Regions from separate parts of the Homo sapiens genome. Here all the other regions are linked to region 2. The links are contacts of gene promoters, found by promoter capture Hi-C in human tissues and cell types (Jung and others, 2019). All regions are on one chromosome and are shown on one strand. Each heading gives the region's core, a stretch centred on a gene start or on the middle of the fragment in contact. The rest is flanking DNA. Distances are from core to core; before and after follow the strand shown.

Region 1 (4,519 bases), core at 468-2,967, 710 kb before region 2:
GGGACTAGAAGTGGGAGAGGCCACACAAACTGAACAGGGAAGTAGGGGAGTAGGTCTTGGTTCTGCCTCATGACCCATCTCTGCGAGCCAGTCTTCAGGAATCACATCTCCAGCTTGCACACGCTCAGGAATTACTCCTGGTTTTAAAGGGCAACTCCTCTACTTAATGACTACACCCTTGGGCAGTCACTTGACCACTTATCTGTAAAGGGATACCAGTATCTCACACAGTTGTTCAGGAGTAGCTCCCATAATGTAAAGCACCTGGCTCGGAGCCTGGCATAGAGAGAGGGGCTCAGTGACAGATGGTGCCTCTTGTTACACTTTTCCTAGGTCTTCTCCCGGGGCTAGCATTTCTCTGCTTCTCATTGGAGTAAGATCCCTAGAGTGGGATATTGGAGAATGTCTGTCTGGTTCTAGTACACACCTTGAGTCCTCAAGCCTAGGCTGAAGGCATCCTCAGCTCCAGGAACATGGACATTATATTAGGGGTGGGGCCAAAGTCTTGGAAAATGAGCACTCATTCAATTACCATTTCCTTCCAACACACCCGAGCACCACAACACCGTAGCCCGCAGCCGTGGCTCACTGGACTCATCGGGGAGGAACGCGGTGGTGGTGCAGCCTCTCTCCAGGCATACTGCGTGAAAAAGCCCCTCCTTGAGAATGATTGCTTTACAGTCTCCACCATGACCAACCAGGATTTGCTGTAGGAATGCAGGAAAGTCCTATTAATAAAATGCAATCACATTAGTGGGTCAAATAAGAAAATACAAATGGTCATCTTTATGGATGCTGGAAGAGTGACGAAATGCAGTATCCTTTTCTGATCAAAATTATTTTTAAAAAAGAATTCAAAAAGATAATTCATTAGCATAATGAAATATACCTATCTTAATAGGGACTTCCCTAAAACTCAGAACCAAGACAAGCAAGAATGATATCACCAATATTACCTAATACTGTACAAGAAATTTTAATGGCCAATGTGATTCAATAAACCAAAAATCAAAATTTTCAAAGTTTTTTTTCAAAAAGAGGTTCCAAATTATCATTATTTGCAGAAAACCAGTCTGAGTGATTGGATTCACAAATCCTTGTGTGCAGAAAACCAAGAAAGTAATAAAACCAAAATTCAGAAAGTAATTAAACCAATATTCAGAAAGTAAAAAAACCAATAAAAGTTCTGTAAGGCAGCTGGTTACAAAGTAAACATGCCAAATCAGTAGCTCTTCTATATATCAGCAATAACCAATTTGATTTTTAATAAAAATTTTAATAATAAAAATACCTGAGAATAAATTTAACCAAGCTTATGCAAGGATTCTGAGGAAAAAAAATAAAAACTTTTACCAGTGGTCATAAAAGAAGATTTTTTTAAATGAGAAGATATATCATTACTAGACTGAAGGACTCAATCTATTAAAAGGCTACTTTCCTCCAAATCTATACATTTCATAAAATTCCCATCAAAATTAGAATTTTTTAAAGGACAAAATGATGTTTTTTTTCGAGACAGAATCTCACTCTGTCACCCAGGCTGGAGTGCAGTCATATTATCTTGGCTCACTGCAACTTCTGCTCATGGGTTCAAGCAATTCTTGTGCCTCAGCCTCCCAAGTAGCTGGGATTACAGGTGTGTGCCACCACACCTGGCTAATTTAAGGACAAAATGATTCTAAAGGTCATCTGGAAAAGTGAATAAAAAAATTCAAGCCAGGAATCAGGCTTACAGCTACCACACTGTGGAGGGAAAGAGAAATTTCTCCCCCAATTAGTGTGCATTTTTCAACCTTTAAAAATCCATGCTTTTGTTTTTTAAATAAAAATTCTTCTCCCATTCTCATTCCAGTCATACTCCGTCCTGTCTTTCCCACTGAATGTTACTATGAATCCTGGACCACAGGCATGGAGCAGCTAGCTCTGAAAACAAGGTGGTAGCAGGAAGATCAGGGAAGGAAAAGAGAACTCTAAACACCACCAAAGTGGCAGTAAGTCTGCCATTTTATTCCCCCTCTGGGGTCTCCTGGCCTGGACTCAAAGATGAACCAAAACCTGGAATTGCATACCAGATGCAGATAGAAAGAGCTCTGAGCCTCTGTTTCTGACCTTAGGAGAGAGGTAAGCACCCCTATAGGTCAGCAAAAGCGGGGAAATCCTGTGTTTGCTGTCTCTTTTCTCCCCACACCAGCCCCTAGGCAATCTCACTGCAGCAGTGGCAGCCAGGCAGGTGCCTAGAACTTCAAGGGAAGGAAACTCATCTCTCTGCCAGAGGAAGAATGGTCCCAACAGCAAGGGAGTCATGCCCATGGCTTTTTTCTCTTTACACAACCTTCCATGCTTGGCCGTGGAGGCAGACAGTCACAGAAACTGTAGGGCAGAGCAGTACAGTTAAAACCCTGACTTTCTAGCCAGAGGACCGGAAAGAGGGACCCCTGAGACTGTAAAGTGTTGAGATTTCAGAGAGGAGGGAACGCAAGAAGGCAATACCCTAAAGTTGTATGTGAACTCCTGGGCTCATGCCCAGGCATTCCATGTGTGGATCTGAACAAAGGCTTTGAGAACTGAACGGTGGGACAAGGCACTGTCCAGTCTCGTACCCGCCACTGGGTGGCGCACACACGGGGCGGATCTGAACAGCGCGGCAAAGGCTCTGAAGCTTAATTGATATTGAACCACAACCCGCAGGAGGCAGGTGGGAACTTGTGACTGAACCTAACCAGGACGATTGCCTGCCAAAGCAAAAACACAGGATTCCAACATGGCCCAGATTCTCATAACACAAAATTAGAATGTTCAGGATACCGTCCATAACTACTTGACCTGTAGAGAACAGAGAGAACCTTAATTTCCTGAAGACACTCCTGGGCTCAAGGGAATCTTCCCACCTCAGCCTCCCGAGTAGCTGGGATTACAGGTGCGTGCCACCACACCCGGCTAATTTTGTATTTTTAGTAGCGACCGGGTTTCTCCATGTTGGTCAGGCTGGTTTCTACATTTCACGTGAAGCACTAAATATATAACCTAAATAGACTATGAAAACCTAGGTGTTTTGTAATCCCTAAAGCAACTACATTTTCAACTTACACAAAAAGATATGGTTAAAAAAATCAGTGAATTAAAATGGAATTCCAAAAAATTCAAATAATCCAAAGGAAGGCAGGAAAAGTCAAAACAGGAATGAAAAACACAGGGAAAAATAGAGAACAAATAGAAAACACAATAAAATATTAAATGTAAATCCAAACATACCAACGATTATATTAAATTTAAAAAGTTGAAATATGCTAATAAAAAGATAGATTGTTGAATGTAAAAAACTAACAAACAAAAAACCCAACACTCAACTATATGTGTCTAAGAAACTCATTTTAAGTAAATAGTATAGATTAAAAATGAAAGGACAAAAAAGAAAGATATATCATACAAATACTAATCAAAAGAAATCTGGAGTAATTACATACCATCAGACAAAACAGACTTCAGAGCAAGGAAATTTACCAAGGATACAGAGGGACATTACATAATGATAACAAGGTCAATTTTCAAAGAAAACATTAACAATCCTAAGCATCTATGTACCTAACAACAGAGCTTCAAAATCCATGAGGCAAAACCTGACAGAACTGAAAAGAGAAATGGCAAATCAGCAATTACAGTTGGACACCCCAACCTGCCTTTCTCAGTAATCCCTAGAACAAATAGATCACATTCTGGATCATAAAACAACAATTTTTTTTCTTTTTTAGACAAGGTCTTGCTCTGCTGCTCAGGCTGGAGTACAGTAGAGCAATCTCAGCTCACTGCAGCCCAACTTCACGGGCTCAAACGATCCTCCCACTTCAGCCTCCCGAGTAGCTGGGACCACACGCTTGTGCCACCACACCTGAGTAATTTTTGTATTTTTGGTAGAGATGGGGTTTCGCCATGTTCCCCAGGCTGGTCTCGAACTCCTGACCTTAAATGATCCATCCGCCTTGGCCTCCCAAAAGTGCTGGGATTACAGGCATGAGCCACCACTCCAAGCCCATAAAACAAACCTTAACAAATTTAAAAGAACAGAAATAATACAAAGCAAGGTCTCTGAGCATAATGGAATTAAACCAGAGATCGATAACTGACAAAAATCTCTAAATAGTTGGAAATTAAATAATATACTTCTAAGTAATCCATGGGTCAAAGGAGGTAGTCTCAAAGGAAATGAGGATATTAGAAAATACTTAAAACTGAACAAAAACAAAAATACAATAAATCAAAATGTGTAGATGCAGCTAAAGAAGAGCTCAGATGGAAATTTATAGCATTTGATGCTTATTTTAGAAAAGAAGGAAGGCTCGAGTCAACAATCTAAACCTCAGCTTTAATAAACTAAAGAAAAAAAAGGGCAAAATAAACCTAAAACAAGCAGAAGGAAGGAAGTTTTGGTAAGTTAAAGAAGCCACTCTCAAAAGGTTACATATTGTATGAACACATGACATTATGGAAAAGGCAAAGCTACAGGGACAAAAAACATCGGTTG
Region 2 (4,570 bases), core at 237-2,736:
CATTCATAGGCCCTGTGGCCCCCAGAGGCAGGAAAGCACGGGGGAGCAATAACCATGTGAAATCAAGTCCCACCCCAGAGCCAGTGAGGCGGTTTACTGAACTTCTTGCATCTTTAATGCTCTGTGAGGCACAGGGAAGCTGACCGCTACCCTTCTTGCCCAATGCTTTGGAACAAGGAAGAACAAGGAAGGAAGGGCAGGGAGGAAAAGACAGCTGTCTCGTTAGCCTTCAGATTCACCAAAGGCAAGGACTCACTCAAGAGCCTCCCAAGTTGCAAGGACAGCAAATCAGCAAGGAGGCCAGAAAGCAAAAACCCCAGCAAAGCTTCGGAGCAGTTCTCTGGGGCCTTTCACAGCGGCGGGACTGGGGGGCGGGCGAGGGTGCAGCTCCGCTCCAAGCGGAGGAAAACAAGACACTCGCTCACCTGGCTTTTTAAACTCTCGCAGCTAAGACTGAAGGCAGAGGTAGCAATCTTCCGGACAAGAAGTCCAGAAGAACAGGTGTCCCCCACCCCCGCACGCCCCCAAGACCGGAGAAAAGCCCACCACTCCGGGAAAGACACCAGAGGAGGTCGGCGGCCAAGCAGGGTGAACTGGAAGTGGCGAAAGGTCGGGGCCGCCCCTAAGCGCCAGCTCCGGGGAGGCGCTCGCGGCAGAGGCTCCCGCGTTCCGTCGGGCAGGACCTCGCGCCCACCCCCTTGGCAAGGACACCGGGGAGGCGCCGAGACGCGGCCAGGGAGGAACTCGGCTGCGGTTACCTCGACCCGGGTCGGGGCAGACGACGCGCTCCGAGAAATTTCGAGGGCGCCCAGTCCCACAGTGGAAGGCCCCCAGGGCGGCGCCCCTGGACCTAAGTGTCCCCAGGACTCTCCGAGGGAAACGCGGCGTCACGAGAGGACGGAGGGCGTCCCCAGCCCCACCCGGACCCCATGGAGTCCGAACCCATGGGGACGACGCGGAGGAGGAAGCGGCGATTCCAGCTCCGCACCCCCGCCCCAAACCTGGCCCCGCAGACTCGCCCAGCCCCTGGCGCGCGTCTCCCGCCCCGGCCGGGGGTCCCGCGCCCTTGGGCTCCCTCCGCGAGCGGCCGCGGGCCCGGCAGTGTTTGTAAACAAACCGGTCACGTGGCCCGGCGGCCGCTCCCCGTCCCCGGCGCCCACGGGGACCCCACGCGGAACCGAGGGCGCCGCACCCCCAACCCCGCGCAGGCCCGGCCGGGGGAGTCCGGAGGCCGGGGCCGGGGACCCAGAGCCCGAGCTGACAGCGCGCCCCACGCCCACGCGCGCCCGGCCCGCGCCGCACTCCGGTGCACTTACCCGGCGACAGGCGGCCCTGTCCGGCCAGCGTGGGGCTTGGCTCCGCTGGGGTGCGCAGCGGCGAAGCGCGGCCCGGCTGGGGCTCGGGCTCCCGGCACGCTCTTAAAGCCACAGTCTCCGCCACCGCCGCGGCCGCCACTCCGCATCCCTCCGGGTCCGGGCCGGGGGCTACCCCGTGATGGACGCGCCCCCGCACCTATCCCCTCGGCTCAGCACATAGCAACACGCCGCGGGTTGGCCGGGCGCAGCCGCAGCCCATCCGCGCAGAGCCAATCATCAGAGGACGGAACTCCGCCCCCCGCTTCCCCGACCGCCCACTCCCCCACCCCTCGGCCCGGCCCAGCCTGGGCTAGGGGAGAGCGGCTGGTTAGGGTCCCGCCCGTCCCGGCAACTTGCCGGAGGGCAGGGACCCAGAGTGCCAAAGCTGGGTGGGCTCTCAGCGCCTAGGAGGAGGCCGTTTATTTGAGTTTGGGGTTTGTCCCCAGGGCAGGGCTGGGATTCCCAGAACCTGGGTTGTATTTTGGGGCGGGGGGATTTGCAGTGCATCTCCCTGGAGGCTCAAGATAGTCATTCCTTTCTTACGTTTTAAACCTCGCCCTAAGCCATAGCCTAAGTTACCAGAAGTGGCCCTCAGGCCCCGGGTAATTGAATTTAAAATGATAGGGGGGAGGGGGGAGGGATAGCATTAGGAGATACACCTAATGCTAAATGACGAGTTAATGGGTGCAGCACACCAACATGGCACATGTATACATATGTAACAAACCTGCACATTGTGCACATGTACCCTAAAACTTAAAGTATAATAATAATAAAATTAAAAGAAAATGATAGTGCTAGTTGCACCCAGCCCACCCATGCCTTGCTCAGAAGCCAGGCATTTCCCCTCTTCTCTCTGCCCTGCTAGTAATTTCGGCGAATTAAAAGTACGAAAGGGGCTTAGTGGAATTGAAGACCGCCCCATTGCTGCTAATTTTCCATGACTTTCAGAGGCAGATGACGGTAATTAGAGTGGGATGGTCCGAGTGACCAGAGGGGAGGAGTCCACGTTCTGGGTCACCGGGGTGGTGCTTTTCAAGGAAGAGCAGGTTAAAAAATAACCTCGTGGCAGTCAGGAAACCAGGGAGGCACCAGGTGGGTGGAGTGGGGCAGTTTCCCAGCAGGAAAACAGGACAGTTTGATAAAGAATGTTGGCACGGACAAGGTGAACAAAGCAGGTCCTGCCTTTCGCTCAAGACACTGGGGTTCCGCAGTTCCTCTGGGAACTCTTCCTCCAAGGAAACTAGTGTTTTACTGTGCAGCCATCAGGATGTGAGGTGCTGCAGGAGGTGCAGCTGACTCTCCGCCTTCCACACACTGGTTTGCACGTACACCCAGAATGCTGGCTCACCTGCATCTCCACCCAGCTGTTTTTAAAATATGCTTGGTCAACCAAATTGTATTCAGTTAATATCTATTGCATGTGAATCCAGTCACCAAGGTTAGTAAAAACAACAAAACACCCCAAATACCTCAGTATTGTGGGGCTGACATATCAGCCTCAGATTTGCAGTTTCAGTGTAAACAAAGGCTATGTCCTGGTTCACAACTGACTAGTTTGGAGAGTCTAAAACGGGGGGGGGGGGGGAATGCTTTCAGATGAGAGGAATCACAAACAAGAACTGTTTAGCATTTAATCCTTAATCTAAGATGTGATGGATTCTTTAGATTAGTAAGAGCTTGCCGTCTCGCCCTGATCTGCTTCTTGAGCAAGTTTCTTTGTCTCTCCAGGCCTAGGTTTCCACAGTTTAAAACAAGGAGGGTTGAAATAGGATGATCTCAAGTCCCTTCCAGCTCTGAAATTCTAAGTAGGGCCAGAAAGTCATGTTTGTTACAACGTTTCCGCAATATTGTGTGAGCGAATATTTGTGTTGCCACATCACCACTTCCTAACAGTAGATGCTGAATTAGTTTAACACCCTAGGATATTGGTATGTTATGTAACAAGACTGGTGGCTACTGTTTCTGTTTAAATAAAAGATAACGTTAGCTAAAGAAGACTAGCCTGATACAGTGGTTTCAGAGGGAGCTCTGAGGACCCCTTCAGGCCTGCTGTGTGTATGCAGGGGACTGGAAGAGGCCCCAGACCTTAGGGTCAGGAGACAATAAAACCAGCCAGCCGGCCAATAACAAAAAAAGTGTTAAGCCTGATCATGCCTCCTCCCAGTCAAAAAGAGCCAAGCATTTTGAGCTGGTAAAGGAGAAGGGAGAGGTGAAACAATGAAGTAAGTGAAACAAAGTAATAGATGCAACTTCTCTGAACCCAGAGGGGGCACTTGAATTGTCCCTCAATACATTTTCTCAGTGCCTACTATGAGCAGAATTCCCTGCTTGACTTGGATGATAGTATTCTGAAGAATCTACTGAGAGGAGAGACGCTGAGGCCAATGGAGAGTTGGTGAAATGAGACAGATGTTTATCCTGGAAAGCAAAAAGAGATGGAGAGAGAGAGAGAAATAAACAGATCTGTTCAGAGTCAGCCAAGGCTTAAACAAACAAACAAACAAAAACCCTTGCTGGTAAAAGTTTGAGAGATTCCTGGCCTCACAGATTATCAGCCTGCCTTTGTCAATGGAACAGTACCTCTGTCTCCTCTGTGTGAAGCCAAATTCATTCATTCCCAGAGCCTTCACGGAATTATTTTCCAGCAACCTCTCACTAATCCCATCTTCCCGCTGTTGCCATATTGGTGCTACTGCTGCTGTGAACAGAGTCACTTTTATGTGTTCACCTTACTTAACCTCTCAACCTTCACATTATTAATTTGAAATAATTAATTACATCTTCCTTCCCCTCACCCGCCATCCCCCAGTTCATCAACAGGTCCTGTCAGTTTCACTTCACAAATATGTATTTGCTGTGAACACATCTGCCTTTGCTGCTGCACCCTGGTTGGAGCCACCAACATCTCTTGCCTAGAATAAGCAGCAGCTTCCCAACTGATCTCCCTGCTTCCAGCCCATTCTCTGTGCAGCAGCCAGATGGTACTTCTAAACAAACTCCTTCTGGTGGCCCACAGGCCCTAGTAACCAGGCCTGCCAACCTCTCTGGTCTTCCACCATCTGTCCTTTGCTCAAACTGCTGCAGTCAAGCTGGCCTTTTTTCTGTTCCTCGTCCTGTTGTAGGGTGTTTGTATTTGCCATCCCCTCCACCTGGAATACCTTGCCCCCAGAAGGCTGCCTCTTCACCATTTGGTTCTGAGGTCAAATGCCAGG
Region 3 (4,499 bases), core at 887-3,386, 630 kb before region 2:
GATTCTCCCACCTCAGCCTCCTGAGTAGCTGGGACTACAGGCCCTTGCCACAGTGCCCAGCTAATTTTAACATTTTTTTCTAGAGACAGGGTCTCTCTATGTTGTCCAGTCTGCTCTCGATCTCTTGGGCTCAAGCGACCTTTTCACCTCAGCCTCCCAAAGTGCTAGGATTATAGGAATGAACCGTAGTATCTGGCCAAGATGAGAATTTAAACACTACATTTGGTATTCTAAATTTACAAATGTACCAAATGTACTAAAATTATCAGTGTACTAATACATATTGGTGCTGCATTGTGGCTGTGGCTGAATTATGTTATATTCTGTTTTTTTTCCTGTTTCCTAAATGTTCACACATTTTGAAGTTTAAAAATATCCACGACATAGTTGAAATGTTAGAATACTTACACATATCTCCTCGGAAAATTCACTATAGTCTGGAGCCTGGCTCTCACCCTTACTGAACCAGAAATCTGTCAGAAAGATTTAAATTAGTAAGCACAGAGAGACTTAAGTATGCCTTCTACCACCGCCGACCACCCCTACCCCCACCCCCAACAAAAAAAGAAAGCCAATGTGTTTTTTTTTGAGGTGGGGGTCTCCTTCTGCCGCCCAGGCTGGAGTGCAGTGGCACGATTTCAGCTCACTGCAACCTCCGCCACCTGGGTTCAAGGGATTCTCCTGCCTCAGCCTCCCGAGTAGCTGGGATTACAGGCGCCCGCCACCAAGCCCGGGTGATTTTTGTATTTTTAGTAGAGACAGGGTTTCGCCATGTTGGCCAGGCTGGTCTCAAACTCCTGACCTCAAGTGATCCTCCCGCCTCGGCCTTCCAAAGCGCTGGGATTACAGGGGTGAGCCACCACGCCAGGCCTAAACCTTTTTTTTTTTAGACGGAGTGTCGCTCTGTTGCCAGGCTGGAGTGCAGTGGCTAATCCCGGCTCACTGCAACCTCCGCCTCCCGGGTTCAAGCGATTCTCCTGCCTCAGCTTCCCGAGTAGCTGAGATTACAGGCACGCACCACCACACCCGGCTAATTTTTGTATTTTTAGTAGAGACGGGGTTTCACCATATTGGCCAGGATGTGGCCACGATCTCTTGACCTTGTGATCCACCCGCCTTGGCCTCCCAAAGTGCTGGGATTACAGGTGTGAGCTACCACTCCCCTCCTCAGCTTCGTTTTCTTAATGACCTTTTAATTTTAGAACAGTTTTAGATTAACAGAATTTATTTTATTTATTTATTTTTTGAGACCGAGTCTCACTCACTCTGTTGCCCAGGCTGGAGTGCAGTGGCACGATCTTGGCTCACTACAAACTCCACCTCCCGGGTTCAAGTGATTCTCGTATGCCTCAGCTTCCCGAGTATCTGTAGCGGGGATTACAAGTGTGAGCCAACGCCCCCGGCTAATTTTTGTAGTTTTAATAGAGACGGGTTTCACCATGTTGGCCAGGCTGGTCTCTACCTCCTGAGCTCAAGTGACCCGCCCGCCTCGGCCTCCCAAAATACTGGGATTACAGGTGTGAGCCACTGCGCCCGACCTAAACTTCGTTTTCTTAATAACCTTTTAATTTTAGAACAGTTTTAGATTAACATAATTATTTTGAGGGCAGTAGGGTCCTCTATACCCCACGCAAGACAGGTTTTTCAACTCTAACTTCTACTTCCACCCCACGCAGACTCTCCGCACCTCTCTCCTCTCATCTCGGGTTCTGACAAGGCCTGATCCTCACAGCCCAAATTCACGATTGTGAGGAAAGGTCAGCTCAGACCAAACGTCACCGCCCAGACAGACACAACTAGGTCAGGCGTCAAGCTCGCGGACATCCGAGCCCGGAAACCCTAACACTCCTCCAGGGGTAGGTTCTCCAAGCCTGAACATTTTTAACCTCAAAACGCCCAGGATCTCGGAGGCGTGTGGTGGATGCCACATAAATACATAACACATAACAACGACTTATTATTTAGCGCCAGGCCTGAAGGCCGTTCTCAGGCGCAGCTCGCTTGTTCTCGCTGCCAAAACACCCCGGCAGCCGTGAGCTCTCCACTCGGCGCGGTGCGGGGGCGGGGCTAGGAGGTGGAGCCGGGGCAGGGCGCGCGCGCGCGCGTGAGAACGTCCGGGGAGCGCGCGCGCCGCCGCCGTTGCCGCCGGGCTGAGAGAAGAGCTTGCGGGGTTTGCGGTTGATGGCCCCGACTGAAGGGCTGGAGGCGGTGTATGCCGCTGTTCTTGCTGTCGCTCCCGACACCTCCGTCCGCTTCTGGTCATGAGAGGTTAGGCCTGGGGGAAGCGGGCAGAGGAGGAGGCGGCGAGGGGCCGCGGCGCAGGGGGCTCTGGGGAGAATAGGCACTCGAGGCTCGGACGTGGGTGGAGAACTCTGCCCTCGGAGATTCCGGAAGAGTTGTGTTGAATTTTCTTCCCTTTTTTCTCCTCTTTCTTGTCTGTGCATGAAGGAAAGTGGGAGGGTTCTATGTTATTTATAGAAAAGACACTGAAAGCCTGCTGTCCAACGTCGCTCTTCAGTTTTGACGAAATAACACCCGTGGCGTCGGGGCCTCGGTGAAAGCCTTTAGTGAAAAGCACTGAAACCCAAACCGCCAGACACGGTGACTGCACCACTGTTCAGTCCTGGGAGTGAAATAGAATGACACAGAACATTCCCTGACGTTAACTCTAGCCTCCTCCTAGACAAACGGGAAAAGCACGGCAGTGTGGGATAGCCTCTGCGTTTTGTCAGCTGGGATTCCGACTCTGTTCTTCTGTTTCTAGGAGGTCCACACTGGATCATTTATTAGAGAGATCTTTCTCTGCTAGAGTCCTCTTTCCTCACACCCCTCCCTCCGTAATACACACACCACCGACGGTGGCATTTTATTGGGCGGACTGTGTAACTGCTTATTCAGACTAAAGAGTTACCTAGCAATTACGTGGTGACTCTCCAAAGTATCTATGCTTTAAATGTATTTAGGTAACATTCTTTTGCGCGGGGAGGTAATATTATTGGTGGCACCATTAATTATTGGAAACTTTATGAGCTTTGGGAAAGCTGCTTGAGCAGAAAATCTAATTTGTAGGTCACCTAAGTGCAGTGTTTATTATTAGTTACCTATGATGATAATAAGGCATTAAGATTTAATGTTGTTTTTTTTCCTAACATTTCCAACCATTAAAAAATACTGGCTCACTCTTCCTTATGAAACTTCTTTGATGTAGAATCTACATCAGAGATGAAACTGCACCATTTGGGAAAAGTAAATGTACCAGAGTACCCAGTGAGGACTGGTGCTCATTAACATCTGCTGGGTACCCATACTTCATGACTGTTTTGCGGATGCCTTCTGCCATTAGAGAACTGGAAGCATTTGCAGCTCAACTTTTTTTTTTTTGGTGCAAATGTTCCCTAAAAGATCATTTGTGTAGGGCAGCAGAGCCTTGGCATTAAGGGAGAAGGGAGGAGTCCAGTGATAAATAACCTGAAAATTCATCTGTTGTGATTATTTGCTACTCCTTTAGTGAATAAAGGATACCCAGTGAGGAATATACTGCTGGTATTTAACTGCCTGTTTACTTAGAATATCTTTTATTTGATTTTTTAGGAGACAGAGGCCTGAAGCAAAGACATCTGGGTCAGAGAAAAAGTATTTAAGGGCCATGCAAGCCAATCGTAGCCAACTGCACAGTCCTCCAGGAACTGGAAGCAGTGAGGATGCCTCAACCCCTCAGTGTGTCCACACAAGATTGACAGGAGAGGGTTCTTGCCCTCATTCTGGAGATGTTCATATCCAGATAAACTCCATACCTAAAGAATGTGCAGAAAATGCAAGCTCCAGAAATATAAGGTCAGGTGTCCATAGCTGTGCCCATGGATGTGTACACAGTCGCTTACGGGGTCACTCCCACAGTGAAGCAAGGCTGACTGATGATACTGCCGCAGAATCTGGAGATCATGGTAGTAGCTCCTTCTCAGAATTCCGCTATCTCTTCAAGTGGCTGCAAAAAAGTCTTCCATATATTTTGATTCTGAGCGTCAAACTTGTTATGCAGCATATAACAGGTAGGACATAATAAAACATTGACTTGTTTTCATTCCTAAATTCAGTTAATTTTCTTTCATTATTGGTAATCTACTTAATGCATCCAGTTACTTATTTTCTGTGAGCTTTTATTATTGTATATGTTTATTTTTAATTTGTGTCATTGTTAGCTTATATAATCCTCTTTGATTTTTTTTTCTTTCAATTAACTGGAACTTATTTTCTAACAGGAATTTCTCTTGGAATTGGGCTGCTAACAACTTTTATGTATGCAAACAAAAGCATTGTAAATCAGGTTTTTCTAAGAGTAAGTATAACAAGCAACTAAAAAATTATTAACTGTTTCTCTCCATAGATTTTAGAGAAATAATTTTGAGAGAAATAGGAAATAACTTGAAAGAAATAGGAAGTAATAGGATATATTGTAACATCCACGTTATGTTAAATTTGTTATCTAAATCCTGGAATAA

What was found. Contacts are between HindIII fragments. The study calls those that stand out against the background at their distance.
Region 1: a fragment that was not itself captured here is called in contact with the fragment with the promoter of YPEL2 in region 2 in 1 of the 25 tissues and cell types used here (hippocampus).
Region 3: a contact is called between the fragment with the promoter of RNFT1 here and the fragment with the promoter of YPEL2 in region 2, in 1 of the 25 tissues and cell types used here (heart left ventricle).

The regions. Positions count from the first base shown.
Region 1 is chr17:60,035,366-60,039,884 of GRCh38, reverse strand. No RefSeq gene overlaps it. Among named protein-coding and RNA genes, the nearest start is that of MIR4737, 5.5 kb to the left of the region's middle. RefSeq lists enhancers at 1-17, 2,735-2,864. The HindIII fragment of the contact is 6,449 bases long and covers 1-4,519 here.
Region 2 is chr17:59,328,571-59,333,140 of GRCh38, reverse strand. YPEL2 (yippee like 2) reads right to left here and starts at 1,486. Exons shown (of 5, transcript NM_001005404.4): 1 at 1,317-1,486. RefSeq lists an enhancer at 429-990 and a silencer at 1,201-1,720. The HindIII fragment of the contact is 13,001 bases long and covers 22-4,570 here.
Region 3 is chr17:59,962,377-59,966,875 of GRCh38, reverse strand. It overlaps RNFT1 (ring finger protein, transmembrane 1), which reads left to right and starts at 2,136. Exons shown (of 9, transcript NM_016125.4): 1 at 2,136-2,268; 2 at 3,592-4,049; 3 at 4,260-4,336. The coding sequence starts at 2,213. RNFT1-DT (RNFT1 divergent transcript) reads right to left here and starts at 1,780. Exons shown (of 4, transcript NR_110815.1): 1 at 1,688-1,780; 2 at 409-473. It also overlaps the pseudogene TBC1D3P1-DHX40P1. RefSeq lists an enhancer at 1,766-2,035 and a silencer at 2,066-2,195. The HindIII fragment of the contact is 23,560 bases long and covers 1-4,499 here.